Linked DNA regions of Homo sapiens: all the other regions are linked to region 6. The links are contacts of gene promoters, found by promoter capture Hi-C in blood cells and fetal thymus (Javierre and others, 2016). All regions are on one chromosome and are shown on one strand. Each heading gives the region's core, a stretch centred on a gene start or on the middle of the fragment in contact. The rest is flanking DNA. Distances are from core to core; before and after follow the strand shown.

Region 1 (3,001 bases), core at 197-2,696, 4.7 Mb after region 6:
TGGGTGGATCACAAGGTCAGGAGATCGAGACCATCCTGGCTAACACAGTGAAACCCCGTCTCTACTAAAAATGCAAAAAAAAATTAGCTGGGCGTGGTGGCGGGTATCTGTAGTCCCAGCTACTCAGGAGGCTGAGGCAGGAGAATGGCATGAACCCGGGAGGAGGAACTAGGAGTGAGCCGAGATCGCGCCACTGCACTCCAGCCTGGGTGACAGAGCGAGACGCTGTCTCAAAAAAAAAAAAACTGGTAGTTTTATATTCAGTACCTCAGGCCCGTATGATTATCTGCTGATGGCCCCACTTAGATGTACATAGCCACTTCAAAATGGGCCCTCTCCCCAAATCTAAGAAGCTTGTTTTCAGTAATTGATCACATTTAGTTCTTTTAAGTCAAGAACCTGAGTGATTCTGTACACTTCTTTTTACATCTAATGAACTTAAGTTCTGTTGATTTCTACCATTTAAGTATTTTTCCCCCTTAGTCCTTAACGACTAGGTTTCCTGCCTCCAGAATAAGCTGAAGTCCTCCAAGATGTACTGTGGTTTTCTCTAAGAAACTTAACACATTTTTCTTTCCCCAGATATCCCAGAAGAAACTGAAGAAACAAAAACTTATGGCACGGGAGTAAATTCAGCATTAAAATAAATGTAATTAAAAGGAAAAGAATGTTGGTTGTCTTTATTAGTGAACATATTTCAAGTGTCCTTACAAGATGGATCAAATGAGGATTTTTTAGGATTAGAACTAGAAACACAAGATTGTTTACCCTGCACCATTAAAAACCATTTTCATGGCTGGGCACAGTGGCTCATTTCTGTAGTCCCAGCACTTTGGGAGGTGGAGGCTGACTGCTTAAGCCCAGCCAGGGCAACATGTCAGAACCCTGTCTGTTAAAAAAAAGTAAGTGTGGTGTCACTTGCATGTAGTCCCAGCTAATTGGGGGGCTGAGGTGGGAGGCTGCAGTGAGCACTACTGCACCCCAGCGTGGGCAAGACAGAACAAGACCCTGTCTCAAAAAAAGTTTCATTATCCCAAAAGGAATTTGCAGTGGTTTTCTTTGCAGAACAATCCAGTATGTGAATATACCAGTTGATCATCCCCAGTTGGAAATGGCTCCATTGAGCATTGCCTTTGAGTATGATAACAGCACTCAGGCTCAGGTTTTGAAGCTTTTTAGGTTGATGCTCAACCTGTATCATTTCGTCAATTGATAAAGGGGTTTTGTTTTTGCTATTAGGAACGATGGTACTGTGAACGTTTGTGTGCAGATTTTTGTGTTTTCATTTATTGAGTATATACTAGAGTGGAATTGCTAGATCATAAGGTTACCTGAGTAAACATCTGAGGAACTTCCAAATATTTCCAAAAAGGCTGCACGCTACATTTCCACCAACGGTTTATGAGGGTCCCAGTTTTCACACAACTTCGCCAACACGTACTGACATCCTAGCGAGCGTCAGTACTTTTCGTTTATAAAGTGATGTAACTGCTTCTTTTAAGCAACTGACGTTTGTAAAGTTGGCCTTAATGTTAGTTTGCTCTGCCCTTGAATTTAAGAAACCAGCAAAACTAATAGCTTATCCACAGTTGCCTCAACGGCCTAGCTGCCACCTTCCGTGTGGGTGCCGCGCCGTTTGCACAGGCATCATCCTTTACCGAGATCCTGCGTTCTGGGTCTGGGTGTAGTCAGGTCAGGCTTTCTTCCCGCAGCGAAGCTTTTAGTTGGGCATCTGGGACGCGCAGGACTTTCGCGCTACCTGCAGGCCGCAGAGCCGGAAGCCTCGCCGCGCCCCTTGGGCAACACTGCTGCGTGCTGTGCGACCCCGGGTTGACGCAAGCGCGCCTTTGTCGTCCCCGTTGAAGGCGCCCATTGGCTCGGCTGCGGATCGTCCCTCCCTCCGGAAGTGCGGACATTGTCAGCTGCGTTTCCGCGGTCGCGGGTGAGTGTGCCCGGGCTAGCGGCCTGGGTTGGGCTTTGTAGCTGCTCCGCAGGCCCAGCCCGGGCCGCGCTCGCAGAGTCCTAGGCGGTGCGCGGCCTCCTGCCTCCTCCCTCCTCGGCGGTCGCGGCCCGCCGGCCTCCGCGGTGCCTGCCTTCGCTCTCAGGGTACCTTCCTTCCGCGAGCGCGCTCCTCCGCCCTCCGCCCCGCCCTCCCCTCCCCTCTGTCTGTATTCTTTGTCCACCACCGGCGCCCTCGGAGCTTGCATTTGCCTCTCCGATACTTTATATTGATTTTGTTCTTTTCCGTGGCCAAGTATCGGTTTCACATCCTTTCTATGACCTTCACCGTTAGGCCTCTGTTCTCGTCTCTTTTCAATCATTGTCATTGACTCAACCTGTCCCCGCTCCCTCTGTCTCCACTAAGATGACATGCTCAACTGGATGACTTGGAGGAAGGTGACTTTCCCTGTTATGCCTTCCCTATTTCGGATGGAGCCTCAGACTTTAACTGTCTACTCTGTTGTCTGGACTTAAGTTGAGTGAAAGAAGATTCCTCTGCAACAGCTTTAATCCGTTTTGCTCGCTTTGTTGGCTTGGAGCGAATAATTAAAATAATAATATCTCGTAGCCACCTTCTAGACTTTTCTGACCCAGTTTCCATATGTGTGAAGTAAAATATCTTACCGAAGTATTATTATGAAGATTAAAAGATAAGATACAAATAGGCTTCATTCCGAAGAGAGCTAAAAAGTCTCTTAAAAGCCGTAATTGTGGCGTAAGTGATTAGTAGTATTTGTCCTCGAGAGTTTATGTACATCGTACTGTGTGCGAACTTACTTAAAACACAATTGCAGAAGTAAAAATGAATCTTTATGATGGAGGGCCTGTCAGTCACTAAACTAGTACTGGTAGCATTGTCAGTTGTTTTGAAGGGGTTTCGTTGGTTTGGAAAGTTTGGTAAAAGTTTGGTAAAAACATGACCATTGTGTTTTTGGAAGAGGAAAAGGCAAGAGCATTGAGGAAAACCAGAACTGGAAATAATGGTCTTAGAAGCTCTAGT
Region 2 (3,302 bases), core at 744-3,243, 3.9 Mb after region 6:
ACAGAAAACCACATATAATATGATTCTATTGATATGAAATATCCAGAATAGGCAAATATACAGAGATAGAAAGATTAGTGGTTGCCTATGGGGAGGGGCTTGGGGAGTGGTATCTAAATGGTGCAGTTTCTTTTGGAGGTAGTGAAAGAGTTCTAAAAAATGACTGGGAGGCCAGGTGCATGGCTCAGGCCTGTAATCCCAGCACTTTTGAAGGCTGAGGCAGGAGGATTGCTCGAGCCAAGGAGATCAAGATCAGCCTAGGCAACATAGCGAGACCCCATCTCTATAAAAAAAATTAATTAAAGGAAAAAGATGATCAGGGCAGTAAATACACAAGTCTGTGATTATACTAAAACCATTGAAATGTAAACTTTTAATGGGTAAATTGCATAGTATTTGGATTATATCTGAATAAAGCTGTTTTTAGAAAAATACTCGATGCCTTTCACTAGCGTTCGGAAAGATTTATTTAAATGCATAAAGATTGGTTAATAGAAAAAAGTGGGTTTTGAAAGAAGGAACCCCTTTTTTTTAAGGAAAGGGGTGTGATAGGATTTGAAAGATGAGGAAAGCTAATGAGGGCCCCTAATTCCCCCACCCCACATCTCTCATAGGCCAGATTTAAAATATACAAATTCCATACCTGGAGAATTATCATTGGGATCGTGAACACTTTTACTCTCCCCTAGACTCCCAGGATAGTTGTCCCCTTGCTATGTGTAGTGTGTGACATGGAAAAGGGGATTGGCCCAGGCAGGAGACAGTGCCTGAATAGGTGGTTAACCAGCCATGTGTTCCTGGGTTCCTGCTGCTCTAAGTGACTCTTGAGATTTTCCTGAGCCTGCTTGATTTGATTGTAATTGAATTGTGAGAACTTGCTGTGTAGAGTTGGTCCTGCAGGCTTGGAAATGGGAACAGCAGGTACCTTCAAGGACAGAAACAGTGAAGGAGGCCTGGGGAATGCTGCGTGCTGCAGATTATTGATGGGCCTTCCACAGTACTCCAGACGAAGGCAACTTAAACTGTTGGTCAAGCACCTCTATTCTGTTGTTCCTTCAAACCAACCCCGAGAAGCCACATTAAAAACCCCCTTTGCACATAGACAATTACAGAGATGGTAATGAAACCAATTCTGTGTTCACAGCACTGCAGGAAACACAACTGTGGATTCAATTCACCTTGTGTGGTTTACTCTTCAAGAGATGCTTAGTTCTTACCTTCAGGGAGTTTATAATTTCATTGAGGAAACAACTTGCTCATATATGAAACCATTGCAGATTAACAAAATTACAGGAGTGTTCTGGTGTCTGTAACGGCAACTTTTGGAAGAGAACACAGGGATAATCAAGAAAAAAAATTATCATGAACACAGACCAGTACCAAAGGGTTTTATAATGCTCCATTTTGTGTATGACAAACCTCAGATTTGCTCTGTCTTCTGTAGGACCAAGGACATCATGATCTGGGGCTAAAAAACACAAACTGGAAGCTTCTGCAGGCTATAAAATTCAAGGTGATATTTACAGATGAGCTTTGCGATGGATAGAAACTGACCTATTCAGGATAGAAATTGGTTCGTAGGAGTTGGGTAGGAATAAAAAGTAGAAGAATCTACCACCAAACCAGAGAAGCAAGCCTATTTAATTCTTTTTGGTTTTTTCAGAGGGCGTAAGTGGGAAAGGAAGAAGTCAGATTAGAAAACTGGTGCACTTGTTCCTCTCTAGGAACCTGAGTGTGATAAGAAATGTGGGCCAGGTGCGGTGGCTCACACCTGTAATGCCAGCACTTTGGGAGGCTAAGGTGGACAGATCACCTGAGGTCAGGAGTTCGAGACTAGCCTGGCCAACATGGTGAAACCCCATCTCCACTAAAAATATACAAATTAGCTGGGTGTGGTGGTGGGCACCTCTAATCCCAGCTACTCAGGAGGCTGAGGCAGGAGAATCACTTGAACCTGGGAGGCGGAGGTTGTAGTGAGCTGAGATTGCATCACTGCACTCCAGCCTGGGTGACAAAAGTGAGACTCTATCTAGAAAAAAAAAAAGAAATGTGGCTGTTAGGGACGGGGAAGCTGTAGTAGGGAGGGAGCAGATTAGAATTAAAGCTACTAAACAAGTCCTCCTCATCAATGATATTAAATGACTGGTTCATGACATTTGGCAGTCTTTAAACATTTCAGAGACATCAGCTTGAAAGTATAATATATGAGGAAAAAGGATATTTGTGTCAGGTGTCCTAAGACCATCCTCAGGTTCAATGACTCACTAGAAGAACACACAGAATACAAAAACACTGCTAAGCTCCCAATTAGTTTGTTACAGCAAAAGAATACAGATTGAATGAGCAAAAAGGCTCATAGGCTATAGTACAGGAAAGACCATGCTTCCAGTTCTCCTCTCCTAGAGGAGTCATATAAACAGCACTTAATTATCCCAGAAACAGTGTTGTGATAACATGAATGAAGTATTGCAAACCAGGGAAGCTCATCCAAGCTTTGGTGTCCAGGGTTTTTATTAGGGGATTGGTTACATGAGTATGGAGGGTGCCATTGCTGACCTTGGTTACTCAGTCTCCGGCCTCTCCAGAGTTCATATTGATACCCTGTGGCCCAAGGTCCCCACCACAAATCACATTGCTATCATAAACTATCTGGTGTGGACCAAGATCCTAGGTAAATATAAACATTCTTTTTTTCTTTTTGAGACAGAGTCTTGCTCTGTCATCCAGGCTGGAGTGCAATGGCGTGATCTGGGCTCACTGCAGCCTCCACCTCCTGAGTTCAAGCAATTCTCCTGCCTCAACCTCCTGAGTAAGTGGGATTACAGGCACCCGCCACCACACCTGGCTAATTTTTGTATTTTTAGTAGAGACAGGGTTTACCCATCTTGGCCAGGCTGGTCTTGAACTCCTGACCTCAGGTGATCCACCCACCTTGGCCTACCAAAGTGCTGGGATTACAGATGTGAGCCACTGTGCCCAGCTGAACATTCTTATTAGGCAAGTAATTCTGAGCACTTTAAGGTTATCTCCCAAGAGCCAGTCAAATATCAGATTTTTTTTTCATGTGAAGGTTTGAACAACCAAGGCCTGCTGAGTTAATCTTTTACCGCATGGCACTATTTGGAGAGTTCCCATTCTGGACCTAATTCATATTATTCTCTCAGATGTCTTTCTAGGAGGATGTTAATTTTGCCCATTTTTATAGATGAGAAAAAGTTCTCAGAAAGATTAACTACACTCTGCAATGTAAAGCAGCTAGTATTAGTAGAGCCTAGAATCAAACTCAAGCTGTAACACTTTGT
Region 3 (3,234 bases), core at 538-3,037, 3.8 Mb after region 6:
GTAGCTATAAGTACTCATGCGAACTCTTAGAATAGATAGCTGTACCTTAGAGAGGGGTGGAAAAAGGTCTACTGCTTTAGCCCCTAGAAAATGACTCCATGGACAATCCTGAAACCTCATTTCTAAGTAGTATGGAACAGAAGGAGGCGAGAGGCAAGGACAATGTCTCTCCTGCGTCTTTTGTTTCTGGCAAATTCTTCCACTTATTAAAACACTTAGAAATGCGAGGTAAAACAAGCATCCTTCTACGTCCACAGCTAAGCTTTCATGAGAAAAAGGCAAATTTCCAGGGGTTCCAATATGAAGAGGGAACTGTGGTTCCCCCTCATACCAGGCAGGGTGTGTGAGCTGAGGCTGCAGCAGCCCTAATCTGAGGAGTGTGGAGCAATGCTGGACAGGAGGTTGTCAATCTCAGCAATTGAATATATTTGATTTTAATAGGGATAAGATCCAAGGTTTTGGGGCTTTAAAACACAGGGTGTTGGAAGTGAGAATCTCAAACGAGGCTAGGACTCTTCTTTATGAATATATTTTCAGTGAAAGTTGTAATCACTCACCAGAGAAATAAGCTTATGTTTTAGACAGGCCCTTCAGTGTGTGTGTGGAAGGGGTGGGAGTGAGGTTGAGGTGAAACTCTCTTTCAGAATTTGTAATATGGATTTGGAATTCATATTAACACTATCCACACTATTCAAAACCACCCCTAAGCAGACAAAGTAACATAAAAAGTCACAAGCTGGTGATAACCCTGGGTACCTGGCAAAAACAAACATAAGACATTTATAAAGTAGTATATTCTCATGGTCCCAATCCCACCTCCTAGCACCCCTCTCTAGGTGAGAAAATCAGAGTCCCTTCCTCCCTAGAAATAAAAGAAGTAGTTTTTTAAAAAATTTAAGGGCAGATTAAAAGCACAGAAGAAAAACTACCTTCATAATTGAAGCTTCCCATCTGCATTTCCAGCTATCTAACAATGACATACACATAAGTAAAAGCAGACTTTGGCAATATGTGTAGATTAAGGAGGCAGTAGAGTGAACCAGGTAGAAGGCCTGAAGTCAGAGACACCAAGTACCTACCTCATTACTGTGAAGATAGGTGAAAGTACATATAAGATGGGCTTAGCCCTGCATGTAGAACGTAATACTCAGTAAATGCTAACTGCCATTCATCATCATCATGAGTATATCATTCTATCTAATAGAGCAACACTACTTGCATTTGACACTCAGCTCATAACAAGTAAAACTAATTAATAAGTAAATGAGAGTACTGATGTCTCTGAGAATAATTTCAGTAGAATTAGTTGAACACAGTATTTCTTCCCCATACACTGGTATCTCAACTTTTAGTCACCTAAATTTTAGGGTGTTGTTTACCACTTTTTTTTTTTTTTTTTTTTTTGAGACAGGGTCTTTCTCTGTCACCCAGGCTGGAGTTCAGTGGCACCATCGGAGCTCACTGCAGCCTCAACCTACCAGGCTCAAGCAATCCTCCTGCCTCAGCCTCCTGAATAGCTGGGACTACAGGTAAACGCCACCACACCTGGCTCATTTTTTATTTTGTGTAGAGACAGGGTCTTACTATGTTACTAGGCTGGTCTCAAACTCCTAAGCTCAAGCGATCCGCCTGCCTTGGCCTCCCAAAGTGCTGGGATTACAGGTGTGTGTCTGGTCACTGTTTTTTATGTAGTAATCTAGTCAGTTACAGAAGCCAAAGTAGCAAACAAACTACCAGACTTTATTTTATAGGCTATGGAGCCACACAAATTATTATCCCCCCATACAAAATGACAGTTGACAACTGTGTAAGGATCTCATGGGTCTGACTGCTTCAGCCAGGCCTATGCTTTGGTGGGTCATGTGAATTCAAGGCTTGATAGTTGTATAGATCTCCAAATTATATTTGTTTATCCATGACTAATCATAACCTCAGAAAGTGAATTTAAACAAGACTCATTATTAAACATCTAAAAGTCTTTTACAAATTACTTCAATAAAAATGGCAACAAAATAGAAAGAGTACTAACATGGGAATCAAGAAACAGAAACTGTCGCCCAACCAAGTACTCATGAGCTGAGGGACCTGGGCCAGCCACCTGACTTCCGAGAGTCTCAGTTTCCTCAGGTGTGAGGTCAGGGGGCTCCTTAAGATGAACCCAGTCCCTTTAGCTTTAACTTTCCAGAGTATGTGAACCATAAACTGTAAAATGTATGAGGCTCCTTTATTAGTAGTTATCAATACAGGACTGAGAATATCAACGTCCCTGAGAGGGGAGGTATAATTCGAAATGGCCTATCTAACATTATAATTTCATATTTGAGAAAGTTTTCAAACTACCAATTCATAATACAAACTACAATACAAGTTCAACACAACCTTCCCAGCACATGGAATTCTGTCTGCCAATAAACCGTTACCCTCCCAGATAAGGTTAGGGAGTATGTAATTCTTTAGACATTTTAGATTTGACAAGGATCATCTGTTTCTCTGAACTTTCATTGCATCATCCAATTTCAGCACGTCAAAATATTTTCAAATATACTTAAAATCTCCAAGTTCATGGATGCTTAAATAATTTATTTCATTTTCAATTAGTTATTTCCCAGTGATATAGAGTAATAAGCTTCCTCCAAAGCAGGCTCTAAGATGGGTTATGAACTACTTTTACCCCTATGGAGCTCTACATCAGTTTTTTTAACTTGCCTTTTAATAATGTGCCACATAACAGTGATTCAGTCAACAATGGACCATAAATATGACAGTGGCCCCATAAGATTATAACGGAGCTGAAACATTCCTATTGCCTTGTGACATCGGAGCCATCATAACATCATGGTACAATGCATTATTCACATGTTTGTGGTGATGCTGGTGTAAACAAACTCTAATGCCAGTATTACAAAAGTACAGCACATACAATTATGTATAGTACATAATAATTGATAATAAATGGTTACTAGTTTATGTTATTTACTATACAATACTTTGTATTGTTATTTTAGAGTGTACTCCTTCTACCTATTAAAAAAAAAAAGTTAACTGTAAAACAGCCTCAGGCAGATCCCTCAGGAGATATTCCAGAAGGCATTGTTATCACAGATGACTGCTCCATGTGTGGTACTGCCCCGATGACCTTCTAGTGGAACAAGATGTGAATGTGGAAGACAGATGTTGATGATCCTGACCCTGCATAGGCCTAGGCTAATGTGTGTGTGTGTGTGTATTCGTTTT
Region 4 (3,028 bases), core at 137-2,636, 4.0 Mb after region 6:
AGCAATGTGTACCAGAGAAATGGTGCTGGGCTTGCCTGGGCAGTGGTATGGGCAGGAGATCTGGGTTCCGAGCTGGCTTTGTGAGCTGGGTTCACACGTAGTTGTGTGATCTCTGGTTGCCCTGCACTTCCTGGAGCGGCCTCTGTGGAAGGGCTTGGGCTGGATCTCTTGAGCCTTTCCTGAGCCTATTGAGGTTATTAACTTCAGATGCCTTGCAGAACTGTCCCTGTAGTCCTGGCATAGAACAAAGGGTAGATGCCTGTAAGGACTAGGGTGGTTGGGAGGACAGAGGAGTGCTGGCTCCTGCAGAATATTGACAGACCCTGCATAGAGCCCCAGACACTGGCGATGTAAACTATTGGCCTAAGCACTTGGATTCCTTTGCTCCTACAAACCAGCCCACCAGGCTAGAAACCCTTTCATCTATACTTGGCCAATTACAGAAGTATTGATTGAGTTCCTGTTGGGTGCACAGCATTGAGGACAATGAGCCCTGCAAAGCTTACCCTTCAGGAGACACAGGATACCTACCTTCAGGGAGCTTATAATCTGACTATGTACAAGCTGTCTATAATGGTAGTTTTTAGAAGATATAAAAAAAGATAAAGGATAATTAAGGGGAAGTGGATGGAGGACACAGAATAGTAGGAAATGGTTTTGTAATGCTCCATTGCGCACATAGCAAACCTCATTCAACATACAGACCTGCTCCCTTTTCCCTAGGTCCAAAGACCTTAAAAAACCTGGAGCTAGAAAGCAGTAGACTGGAGGCTTCTACAGACTGTAGGATTCAAGGTGATATTTGCAGACTGGCTTTATGAGAGACAACACTGATCTACTAGGGGCTGGACCCTAGATTGGTTGCCAGGGCTTGTGTGTGAATCAACCCTAGGAGGAAAAACCTACTACCAAACCAGAAGAGCAGGCCTAAGAGTACTTTGAGCTTCTAGAAGAAGTAAGCGGGAAAGGAAGAGAAAGAGTAGAAAGTTGGTGCATCTTCTCCTCCCCAAGAGCCTGAGTATAAGAAGTTGGATTTTAAGGGTGGGGGAGCTGGGTTGGAGAAAGGTAATATAATTAAAGCCACCACAAAACAACCTAAACAAGCCATGTTCATGAGTAATTGTAAGTGGCTTCTGGATGAGACCTGGCAGTGTCTCTACATACTTCCTCAGGGAGATAGCAATTGAAAATGTAATTGAATAAATAAGGAAAGGAACTGCTATTTGGTGTGTTCCTCTGTGGACCCAGTTTATTTAATCCTTAAAATAATATTTTTGGGAAGACATTGATTTTGTCCATTTATGTGGATGGGAAAACTGAGACTCATTAATTTGTCCAATGTCGAACAGCTGGTGTTAGTAGAGCCTAGACTCAAACCCAGCTTTTAAAGCCCTTGTTCTTTACTCCACTAAACTGTAACCTGTAATCCTGTATGCACTAACAGGAGTTTTCGGTGACCTTGAAAACACAGATTACTATAATTACTATAATAAATCCCTTACATTCCTGTCTCTAGCATGGTTTAGGGAGTGCCAAGGCTCAATGTAGATGGGGTCACCTTGTCAGAGCATCTGTTCATACAGAAACTGGGTTTCCTGCAGACCCCAGGTGCTGCATAGGATTCCTCAAACCCTACAGGATATATCTCCCCACTGGCTGCTGTCCATTTTGCTTGTTACCCTGACTCCCCCTCTTCAGCCAGAGCAGTCTTTGTAACTAAAGCTGCCAGCCTGGCTCATCTTTCCTGACAACGTGCATCTCCTGCCCTGTGATCACCTTTGTGCTTGGCTCCTGCCCTCAGCCTGAATGTGTTCTAGGAGGCTGAATTCCTGCTTCGAGTCCTGCCCAAGAGCCAGTCTTGGCTCAGCCCTACCTCACTCTCTCCCAATTCTTCATTCATAAAGTGCCAAAAAGATTAGACCTGTAATTTGTTAGCCAGCTTTACAGGGCCAGGACTGAGTGAGTGCCTCCTTAAACTTTGTATCCTGTGTGCCTCCCTTGCCTTACCCTAGTCCCAGCCCTGCAGCTTTAAGTAATTCAGACATGGATTAGCCATTTCCCAGTTCTGTCTCATACAGTCCAGCCTCTGCCACCTTCCCCACCCCTTCCTTTATTCCATCCTAACTAGTTCAGCCCTAGTCAAGACTGGATAGACTGATACTGCTTTGTTTCCCCCAGGAACCAACCACCCAACCCCAGTATTCTGGTAATTTTGACAATGATCTATATGAAATTTATTTGATTGACATTTAGACTCATGAGTTAAGCTTCTGCTGACCATTTATGTTAGGGTACAATCAGAGGAGCAGAACCACTAAGATAAAGATTATGTATATATGTATTTTAAGGGATTTATTATAGGGATCTGACCGCATGCCATTGTGGGAGCTGGTTAAACAGTCTCTGTAAGGCTGTTGTCTTTGCATCTAATGCTGGAGCTTGAAGTCTGCAGGGCAGGCACTCGGGAAGGGAAGATGGATGTAAAGTGTGGGAGACCGAGGACACAGTGGAGCCCACGAGCACGAGCTGGAACCCACGAGGATGGCCTGGAACCCATGTCAGTCTCTCACCACCTCCAGCTTCGATGATGTGGGTGTCCTGCAGAAGAAGCTGGTGCCCTTCCTCACAGAGTTAAATATGCATCTGGCCCAGGAATTAGAGAAGCTGAAAGGATGATCCTGGGGAAGGTGGAGCAGCTGCAGGCCTGGCTGCAGGCCTGACTACTGCCCACACCAACGAGGTGATCTAGCAGATACATGGCAACGTGTGAACTGCAACAACGCCTGGTGCCCCAGCACCAACCTTCCAAGTGTAAAAACAATGTGCTGCTGCTTCACTTCCGCCCTCCGGTTATCAAGCAAAATGTCTCTTGTGGCCCATCTTACTGGAAGAGAGTTCCGGGAAACATAGCCTCACCAAGGTGACACATTACAAAGCCACCCTACCATGAATCCGCTCCCAAGGGTCTCACTGCTCACCTGAGGATAACTCAATATAACTATGTGGCTGAAAATGCAAAGCTGAAGAC
Region 5 (2,905 bases), core at 365-2,864, 4.9 Mb before region 6:
GCCACGTGACCGGCGACTCGCTTGGGCGTCTGGGAATCGTAGTCTCGCCAGTCTTGGGCACTGGCCAGCCAGGAATGAACCTGAAGGAAGAAAACTACCACTCCCAGAATGCTGCGGGGTGGGCACCTCGGCCAGTGAAGACCCGGGGCTCCTAGGGAGGGCAGCTACAGGGCTCCGGAGCCTTGTCCGACCCTTCGGAGGGAACATCGAGCAGCGAGTGACCCCGCATACCTCGGGGGGCAACTCGGGGAAGGGACTACTCAAGAGGAGCTGAATTTCCCGACTCTGGTCAGGCGCCAAGAGGACACCTAACTCCCGCTCGCAAATCACCTAGCCGTGTATCTTGGCTATTGGATGACTGCAGCGAGGAAAGGTGGTGCCTCTACGCTGGGGCGGGCTGAGCCGAATTGGGGCGGGGCCTAAAGATGGACTGCGGTGGGCGGGGCTTGGAAGAGGCGGGACTTTTGAGGCCGCTGAATTCTGCATTTTGAGTGGTACCACTTGTATGCAAGGAAGTATCTTTGAATGCCTTGACCATAATTGGGTTGCAATAGATATTAATTAAATGAATACATAACCACCTAATTTCATACACGAGAAAGCAAAGGCCCAGAAAGGTTCATTGACATGGCCAAGGTTAAGTGGAAATGAGTGGAATATAACTCAAAGTTTTAAATTTAGAAGTCCTAGATCATCACAGTTCTGATCCTAGATTACCTTTGGTTCATTCACTCACTCGTGTATGCATTATGCATTCTTTATTGTATTTATTTATCCACAAATCTTTATGGAGCACCTACCATGCACCTGGCCTTGTTCTAGGCACTTGAGAAACATCAGTTAACAAAACAAGCAAAGATTCTTGCCCTCATGAAGCTTATATTCTACCGAAGGCAGACATAATGGATAATTTATACGGTACCTAAAGGATGGAGGTGCTATGACAACAGGAAAAGCAGATAAGTTGAATGGGGAGGTCTGGGGGAAAGGATCAGGTTGCAATTTAAAATATACCAGAAGCTGACTTACCATGAAGCTAATGAAAGGTAAGTTCTGGGACCCTTCAATTGCAAAGGTGTTTTTCCAAGGTGTGGGAGAAACTTAACCATAGAATGTGTAAAACTTTCAAAAGCAAGATATTGCAATTGCTATTGGTTAAGAGTTCTGTTTCTTTGCATTCCAACTTCACCTCCATTACATTTCCCCTCCTGTTGGAGGGACAAGGAGAATTTTGGGGATCCAGCTAAGGAGGAAACGAGTTGGAGATACATTTGGTTTGAGTTTAGTGAATTTATTTATGTGGTTCATGGTCTTTCCTGCCATCCTCGTGTAAAAAATGGCTTCTGGGAATACTGCCATCCACTGGGCCAACTCACCTGGCACCGTGGCAGGAAGTCCCACTGGAAGTGGCATCTGATATGAAAGTGTTCTGCAGCACTTGACCTTGGAAATAAGTGGATGGAGAGGAAAAACAAGGTTTGAAATGTACAGATCCAGAAGCTAGTCTGTGTAAAATTCTTCCAAATATCAGATGTATAAAATTATAAGTGCAAGACACAGTGCTTAGTACATAGGAAGATATGGTGATAGTTAACCCTGCCACTAATAATTGCTGGAACTAAGGTGGCAGCACTAAAGGTTCAGAATCTGGATACATTTTGAAGAAAGAGTCTTCAGGATTTTTTGAAAGAATAAATATAGGGCGTGAAAGAAGAAAAGAGATTGAGGCTGACTCCAGGGTTTTTAACCTATGGAACTAGAAGGGTAGAGTTCCCCTCAACTTCAATGAGGAAAGCTGTGGGTGGAACAGGTTTGTGGGAATAGAGTAAGGGTCCAAAATGTGACCAATAAACCTAGAACCCAGTGTGATATCTTCACATCAGAACCTTTGGCCCAGCCTCCAGGCTCCTGCTTAGGTTGAGCATTGGGTGAGAAGCAACACAGGAAGACATTGGGTAGAAGTCCCTGCATATTGTCCAGTCTTAGACTAATTTATTCACCTCCATGAACCCTTTGCTCATCCACCAAATAAAAACCGTATTTGTTACAGCCACTTTGGAAGACAGTTTGGCAATTTCTTCCAAAACTAAGCATCCTCTCACCATATGATGCAGCAATTGCACTCCTTGGTATTTACCCAAATACCAGCTTGAAAACGGATGTCCACACAAAAACCCGTACACGGATGTTTTTAGCATCTTTATTCATAATTGTCAACACTTGGAAGCAACCAAGATGTCCTTTAGTGGGTGAATGGATAAATAAACTGCAGGATATCCAGACAATAAAATGCTATTCAGTGCAAAAAAGAAATGTAATATCAAGCCATGAAAAGACAGGAGGGAAGCTTAACTGCATATTACTAAGTGAAAGAAGTCTATCTGAAATGGCAACATACTGTATGATCCCAACTACATGGCATACTGAAAAAGGCAAGAGATGTTGTGAGAGTCAAGTGAGGTATTAATAATATGCAAAAAAAACCTCCCATCTGACTCAAAATAGACTCTCAGAACCAGTAGGAGGAATTATGGCTACTATTAATATTTTTTTCTTAATCCAGGACATAAGTAATTAAGAGAACTAGAATGTTCACTTCATTTGTTCTGTCACTGGTGGCCTCTTCCCCAGTGAAGTACTCCTTCCCGTGAACTCTAGAGGCAAGACTATGGAGACAGTAAAATGATCAGTGGTTGCCGGGGGTAGGGGGGAGAGTATGATACTATAATGATGAGTACATATCATTATATATTTGTCAAAACATAGACTGTACAACCCCAAAGTGAACCCTGATGTAACCCGTGGACTTTGGGTGATAAGGATGTGTCAGTGTAGATTCACCAATTGTAACAAATGTACTACTCTGGCAGGGGAAGTTGATAGTGGAGGAGGCTGTGCATGTGTG
Region 6 (3,224 bases), core at 385-2,884:
CACGCCAGCACGCCCAGCTAATTTTTGTATTTTAATAGAGATGGGGTTTGACCATGTTGGCCAGAATGGTCTCTATCTCTAGACCTCGTGATCCGCCGGCCTCGGCCTCCCAAAGTGCTGGGATTACAGAAGTAAGCCACCGCGCCCGGCCACAAATGACTTCTTTTTTTTTTTTTGAGACAGAGTCTCGCTCTGTCTGCCAGGCTGGAGTGCAGTGGCGTGATCCAGTTCACTGCAAGCTCCGCCTCCCGGGTTCACGCCATTCTCCTGCCTCAGCCTCCGGAGCAGCTGGGACTACGGGCGCCCGCCACCACGCCCAGCCAATTTTCTGCATTTTTAGTAGAGACGGAGTTTCATCGTGTTAGCCAGGCTGGTCTTGAACTCCTGACCTCAGGTGATCTGCCCGCCTCTGCCTCCCAAAGTGTTGGGATTACAGGCGTGAGCCACCGCGCCCGGCCCACAGATGACTTCTAAATGAATGTCTCCAGTACTGATCTCCTCAGAACTCATTTCTTGATGATTTTTTACATTCACATTTCTAAATTTCTTGTAGGAAACCACAAATTAGTGTCTTTCAACTAAAGGACATTAAAAGAAGACTAAGGTCAGGTTTAGAGACAGACAAGTTTGTGTGTATGAGTTAATGTTTGCATATACTGCAAAGATAAACCAAATTAATTTTAGATTTTTGTTGCTTTATATTAATCAACTTTTTCTATACGTTAAACTTGGTCCTCAGTTTTTAGGGCATATGAGTATAGAAACCCAAGATAGCTTATCATCAGGCTGATAACATGTGCTTTACATTTTTCAATCTTCCAAATATTTCATAATATATTATCTTGAATATCAATAGCACACTTCTATAAGTGTTCGACAACTTATAGAAAATATGCATTTCTAAAATTCAAGTTGGCAGACCGAAAAGAATACCACACAGTTTCCTAAAGGCTTGTGACAGTAAGTTAGGCTGGACTTTCAACATAATGGAATATTTACCAAATAAAAGGCCACTGATTTTTGTATTAGACAAAGACATCTGGAAATTTCTAGATGGATTTAGGGATTCTGGTCATTCTAAGGAGAATCTAGAGGTAAGCCCCATCTGACTCATGGGCATATTCCAAGTTATCATTTCCTTTCCTACATCCTTACAAGGTTCCAGGAGAATCTGTCAATGGCTCTGAAGCCAGGCTCAGGAGGGAACTGGTATTCAGCGAATGGGACACTTTGCTTCATTCCTTCATTATAAGCTCCCCTGCAAGCTTTGTGCAGAGGGGCGGGAAAAGGGGCTATCACCCCCTTAAATGAATAGCCGAGTTGGTATGTAATATAAGATCTATTTTGCTTGTTATTCATTAATTGGGAAGCAAACATAGGTAAAATCACATAATGGTGGAGGTTACCCCGTTTGAAACAAACTAACCACAGTCACTATGACACCCCCAGCTGGTGGCTAGCCCGACCAACCTTCCCAGCTCCGCGCGCCCAGTGGGGGCCGGAAAAGCGCGGGAGGGGGCGTGGCCCCGAGAAGGCGGAGACAAGATGGCCGCCCATAGCGCTTGGAGGACCTAAGAGGCGGTGGCCGGGGCCACGCCCCGGGCAGGAGGGCCGCTCTGTGCGCGCCCGCTCTATGATGCTTGCGCGCGTCCCCCGCGCGCCGCGCTGCGGGCGGGGCGGGTCTCCGGGATTCCAAGGGCTCGGTTACGGAAGAAGCGCAGCGCCGGCTGGGGAGGGGGCTGGATGCGCGCGCACCCGGGGGGAGGCCGCTGCTGCCCGGAGCAGGAGGAGGGGGAGAGTGCGGCGGGCGGCAGCGGCGCTGGCGGCGACTCCGCCATAGAGCAGGGGGGCCAGGGCAGCGCGCTCGCCCCGTCCCCGGTGAGCGGCGTGCGCAGGGAAGGCGCTCGGGGCGGCGGCCGTGGCCGGGGGCGGTGGAAGCAGGCGGGCCGGGGCGGCGGCGTCTGTGGCCGTGGCCGGGGCCGGGGCCGTGGCCGGGGACGGGGACGGGGCCGGGGCCGGGGCCGCGGCCGTCCCCCGAGTGGCGGCAGCGGCCTTGGCGGCGACGGCGGCGGCTGCGGCGGCGGCGGCAGCGGTGGCGGCGGCGCCCCCCGGCGGGAGCCGGTCCCTTTCCCGTCGGGGAGCGCGGGGCCGGGGCCCAGGGGACCCCGGGCCACGGAGAGCGGGAAGAGGATGGATTGCCCGGCCCTCCCCCCCGGATGGAAGAAGGAGGAAGTGATCCGAAAATCTGGGCTAAGTGCTGGCAAGAGCGATGTCTACTACTTCAGGTACCTCCCTGGGGGCGGGGAGGGGGTGGCGGGGTCAGGCCGGGGTCAGGGGTCAAGAGCGGGCCTGGGCAGAGGATGAGCGCTGGGGCCCGGGGGGCATGTGGCAGGGACAGGCTGGTTTGGTGGTGGAAGGTGGCGGAACCCTTGGGTGAGAGTTGACCCCAGTGCGGTGGGAGGCAGTGTCAAAAGGTGAGGGCCCGCAGGAGGGCATCTTATGTGGAAGGCGTCGGGGAAGATGGTTTGCGAAGAAAGGGTTAGCCTGGCAGGGATGGTTAGTCCACTGAAGGGTTAAAAGGAGGTGTAATTCATCGAAACTATAAAACCCAGTCACTGTTGGCTCCTGTCCCAGCCTGTCCCAGATTCATCATCACAAGTGTTAAGCATGCACATGTGGAAGAATGAGCTATCTACAGTAACAAGGTTTCATTTACTTCATCCAAGAAAGTTTTGTATAAAGCAGCTATTTGGAATGCCTGAAGTTTTTTTGGAACTTCTTGGTATTGCAGAATATACTCTTTTGAAACTGACACACTGTACTAAGTTTTTAGACTCCTAGACCAAAATTTGCTCCCCAGGGAACATTTGTCAATGTCTGGAGACATTTTCGGTTCTCACACCTGGGGAGGGTGTGATACTGGCATCTAGTGGGTAGAGGCCAGAGATGCTGCTACATATTCGATAATACAAAGGAAAGCTGCCACAACAAAGAATGATCTGGCCCAAATTGTCACCTGTGCTGAGGTTGAGACATCCTGTTTTAAATGATTCAAGGTTTTTCACCTTAGTGTAATCTTGCAATCCCGTGGTCATGCTGCTGATGTCTTCAGTTTGTGTGACCCAGTAAGCTCAAGAAAGTGCCTATGGCAATTGACATCCGTGGACTTAATACACATTTACTAAATTTTGTAATAAGCCATGCTATTGATAGAAGATAATATA
Region 7 (3,336 bases), core at 670-3,169, 3.8 Mb before region 6:
CCAAAAGTCCTTCATCTGATGGTTTTGAATCTGGCTACCTAAAGTGACATGACTTAAATCAGGGTAAATATGAATTATAACTCACCAGAGAAACCTCCGCCCGAAACACACAGAAAAAATTAAACAGCACATACATTCACACAAGCAAAGCCCACATCTCAACCCCTTACCTTCTACAAAGTGGACAGACCTCTGCTGATGACGCAAGGAACAGCACCTAAGCCCTGTGCTTTGGCATCCCCGTTTTCTGGGTTCATGCAATGCTTCATCATCAGCAGTGCAGAGAGCTCAACAGTCTTTATGAGATGGGACATAACTAAGTGCACTCCAAACATACCATGCTTTTCAACAATCTCAAATCAAAATACGAATCTACTTTTAAGAAATGTGGTAGGTATGTGTGTCTACTTTGCTAAAAGATTTATGAGGTCACTCTTCTAAATAGCGGTCAAAATATCTTCATATGTGATATTCTGCAGCACACCAAGTCTGCAAACTAAGTGTACCCATATTTAATACGCCTTGGAAGAACAACCCTGCCGTTTGCTTCAGCGGGCATTCTACTTTCAGAGCCTGCTAAAATCTTCCATTGGTTTTTCTTACACATACTAATTCAGGGAGACAAAACAAGCTGTGCAAATTCAACAATTTGTCGTTAATATTCTACGAAGGCATTCCCTGATTCTCTGAAGGGCAACGTGACAGCATGAAACTGCCCATGAAAAACAAATACCAATGAAATGTGAAGTCATCAGAACTGCCCTGGCTTATTTTTTCACTGGTAGGAGAAAGTTGAAAAAGGAAGACGGCTGAGACTCATCTTGTGAAATACAATGTGTGTGGAACTAAATACTACCAGCGACATGGCAATAAATAGATAATAAAAGGTGTCTTCATCACCTCTTGCTATTTCCTATACAGCCCCAAATTCCCTTCTAGCAACATGCAGGAGTGAATCCAGTCACATGCCAACACACACTCGGACTCTGTTTACATTCCAAGCTTCACTTTCACACTAGACATCAGTTATGATGATTAGTAGTGACTCCTGTGGACAAAAGTGGCAAGATGTGCTCTAGGTAGATTCTGACACTCACTGCCAATGTAAATAAAGCACAAACAACAGTGACATTAACGTGTTTCATTTATCCAGCTGCACTTCCCAAAACACTCTTAAAATCGTTTTTTCGGGGGAGTTTTTACAAATAATCATGTTATTAAAACATTTTTTAAAAGAACCTAGGATGAAATGCAGCTGTCCTCACCCCCACCCCCCACAATACGTCAACCCAAGCAGCCCCTTTGTTTAGGAATGTCTGCGTCTCTGCAACTCAGGGCCTGCCCTCTACTGCCACTAATTAAATGGAGAAGTAGAGGATGCAAGGGAAAGCTCCTCAAAGAGAGAAGCCAGGAGGGAGAGGAGAAGCCCCCCGGGTCAATGAAACAATGCTACTGTCACCTATCCCCAGGTAGTTACACAAAACGGGAAATTATTTTACAAAAGCACAGCGAGGCAAAATAAACACACAAATCACACATTATTTGCACTGTGATCATTCTTTGATCAAATAAATACATCAAGCTTTGCCTAGCACCGCTAAGAAAAAAATTCATACCCTAAACACCCTTCCCACCCCAAAATACCTTTCATTCCACACTTACGTAGCACACAGGCACACACACACACCATGCCAGGGTAGGAGAGCCGCAGAAAGCGGAGCCATAACGCGAGCCTGTCTCAGATAATAGCCTTTCTTCCAACCCCACCCCCAACACGAGAGAAAGAGGGAACCTCTGAAAAGAAAGGAGGGAGGGGAAGAAAGAGAAATCGAGAACGCCTGAATTTCCAGGCATCAACTTTTCATGAAATGCACAACCAGGATAGGAAATACCTCCCTGCTGAGTAATGCTTCTTGGGTTGTAAAATTCACCTCTCGAAAGGGGAGCCAGACCTGAGCGCGCACCCCGCCAGATGGCAAACCACTCCTACCTGCTCCATCCAGCCTGCCTGTCACGCCGCGCCCGCGACAAGCGTCCCACCCCCCTTTTTGGCAGAGCAACATACCAATAAGAGCCGAGCGTGGCTGGTCGAGAGAGGACTAGGCAGTGATTTAGCAGGATTGTTTCAAAAGGGGGGAGTGGGAGACACGGAAGAGAGAATGAAGGTAAAAACAAAGCCCTTTCCAGTGAAACCGACCGCCTGGGAGGCGTGGCTTATTCAGTCGCTTTATTAATAAAAGAGATCAATTAAGCTTTCCTCTCCCCACCCACCCTGGAGGTGCCGGGCTTTGAATCCTCGGGAGGAAAAAATGGCAGGGCTGCAAGCTTCCTCCCCAAGTTTCCAGGAGCACCTGCCACCAGCCTTGAACACCTCCCCCACCGAGGCTCCGAAATCCACAATCCTGGCCGTAGACTTTGCAAAACGAGGGGAGGGACACACGCAGCGTGTCCCCCATTCCCGCCGGGATAAGCACGCACAGGCTTCTGAGCGCCTGCTGATCCACACAATCATGAGAGAGAAAGTTCCAGGGGGAAACGATCCGGCTTCTCCGCAGTCCCGGGTCTCCAGCCGCGCGACCCAGACGTGACATGCATCATGGACTCCCGGGCTGCAGGGGCGAGAGGCGGAAAGTTGCCCAACAGCCCCGGGAGACGCTGCTTGGAGAGGAAGAGGGAAGAGAGGCACGCATGCCCCCTCCCTCTCCTCCCGAAAGCGAGGAGCTGCGGAGTGAACCCCCAGCTCCAAGGGCGTCGCGCCGCTTTATTTACAAACAATGAGCTCGGCTTGCGGAGGGTGGGGGGTGCGGAAGGACCCAAGCTCCCCTGGATCCCGCTCCGGGGCGCTCCCGCTTTGGGGCTCCCCTGCAGACGCTGGGCACGAGCACCCCGGGGACGGCCCCTTTCCCCTCCCCCTGCCGGCGCGGGATAGGAACTCCCCGGGGAGTCCCGAGCAGGAAGGGGGTGCCACTCACCTCGTCTTCGGAAAGTCCATAGACCGGCTCCCCGAGCCCGGTCGCCATGGAGCCGGCGCCCCGCGCGGGGTCTGAGGCGCTCCCAGCGGCTGTGCTGCGGCGCGGACGGCCGGTTCTCCCCTCTGCCTCCAGGTCCCCCCGGTCCCGCACCCTACCCTGCGCACGCCCTGCCGGGTAAGCGGCCGGGCGCCGGCAGGTGAGGGTGCCCGAGAGCGCGCCCTGGACGCTGCCGGCACCGCTTCCTCCCGGAAGGCTGCGGGACCAGCGGGCGGGCGGCTCCCGAGAGCGCGCCGAGCACCGGGCGGCAGCCCCGGCGCCTCTCACTGCGCGCGGCGGCGGCGCAGACCCGGCCGGGCTTTCCCTC

The links. The method cuts DNA at HindIII sites, captures the fragments that hold promoters and counts their contacts. A CHiCAGO score of 5 or more calls a contact.
Region 1: a fragment that was not itself captured here is called in contact with the fragment with the promoter of MBD2 in region 6 in 1 of 17 cell types (naive CD8 T cells); the score reaches 8.0 in naive CD8 T cells.
Region 2: a fragment that was not itself captured here is called in contact with the fragment with the promoter of MBD2 in region 6 in 1 of 17 cell types (non-activated CD4 T cells); the score reaches 5.7 in non-activated CD4 T cells.
Region 3: a contact is called between a fragment that was not itself captured here and the fragment with the promoter of MBD2 in region 6, in 2 of 17 cell types (total CD4 T cells and total CD8 T cells). The highest score is 8.4, in total CD4 T cells.
Region 4: a fragment that was not itself captured here is called in contact with the fragment with the promoter of MBD2 in region 6 in 3 of 17 cell types (total B cells, naive CD8 T cells and naive B cells); the score reaches 9.6 in total B cells.
Region 5: a contact is called between a fragment that was not itself captured here and the fragment with the promoter of MBD2 in region 6, in 2 of 17 cell types (naive CD8 T cells and non-activated CD4 T cells). The highest score is 10.4, in naive CD8 T cells.
Region 7: a contact is called between a fragment that was not itself captured here and the fragment with the promoter of MBD2 in region 6, in 2 of 17 cell types (total B cells and activated CD4 T cells). The highest score is 5.2, in total B cells.

What each region holds. Positions count from the first base shown.
Region 1 is chr18:49,486,148-49,489,148 of GRCh38, reverse strand. C18orf32 (chromosome 18 open reading frame 32) reads left to right here and starts at 1,915. Exons shown (of 3, transcript NM_001035005.4): 1 at 1,915-2,106. All of the region lies in intron 5 of RPL17-C18orf32 (RPL17-C18orf32 readthrough), which reads left to right. RPL17 (ribosomal protein L17) reads left to right here. Exons shown (of 7, transcript NM_001035006.5): 7 at 583-668. The coding sequence ends at 630. MIR1539 (microRNA 1539) reads right to left here and starts at 1,776; the gene lies at 1,727-1,776. RefSeq lists an enhancer at 1,857-2,016 and a silencer at 2,057-2,186. The HindIII fragment of the contact is 546 bases long and covers 1,174-1,719 here.
Region 2 is chr18:50,293,010-50,296,311 of GRCh38, reverse strand. No RefSeq gene overlaps it. Among named protein-coding and RNA genes, the nearest start is that of CXXC1, 7.0 kb to the right of the region's middle. The HindIII fragment of the contact is 1,003 bases long and covers 1,492-2,494 here.
Region 3 is chr18:50,376,845-50,380,078 of GRCh38, reverse strand. All of the region lies in intron 2 of SKA1 (spindle and kinetochore associated complex subunit 1), which reads right to left. Among named protein-coding and RNA genes, the nearest start is that of SKA1, 3.4 kb to the right of the region's middle. The HindIII fragment of the contact is 1,683 bases long and covers 946-2,628 here.
Region 4 is chr18:50,269,236-50,272,263 of GRCh38, reverse strand. It overlaps MBD1 (methyl-CpG binding domain protein 1), which reads left to right. Exons shown (of 17, transcript NM_015846.4): 16 at 724-795; 17 at 2,446-3,028. The coding sequence ends at 763. Among named protein-coding and RNA genes, the nearest start is that of CFAP53, 4.3 kb to the right of the region's middle. The HindIII fragment of the contact is 1,766 bases long and covers 504-2,269 here.
Region 5 is chr18:59,136,945-59,139,849 of GRCh38, reverse strand. No RefSeq gene overlaps it. Among named protein-coding and RNA genes, the nearest start is that of SEC11C, 1.5 kb to the left of the region's middle. RefSeq lists silencers at 1-66, 487-536 and enhancers at 107-206, 287-376. The HindIII fragment of the contact is 1,471 bases long and covers 879-2,349 here.
Region 6 is chr18:54,223,079-54,226,302 of GRCh38, reverse strand. MBD2 (methyl-CpG binding domain protein 2) reads left to right here and starts at 1,634. Exons shown (of 7, transcript NM_003927.5): 1 at 1,634-2,285. The coding sequence starts at 1,744. RefSeq lists enhancers at 1-250, 251-793 and a silencer at 1,544-1,933. The HindIII fragment of the contact is 9,949 bases long and covers 1,268-3,224 here.
Region 7 is chr18:58,044,345-58,047,680 of GRCh38, reverse strand. It overlaps NEDD4L (NEDD4 like E3 ubiquitin protein ligase), which reads right to left. Exons shown (of 31, transcript NM_001144967.3): 1 at 2,973-3,336. The coding sequence starts at 3,020. Among named protein-coding and RNA genes, the nearest start is that of NEDD4L, 1.8 kb to the right of the region's middle. RefSeq lists a silencer at 2,821-3,336. The HindIII fragment of the contact is 670 bases long and covers 1,585-2,254 here.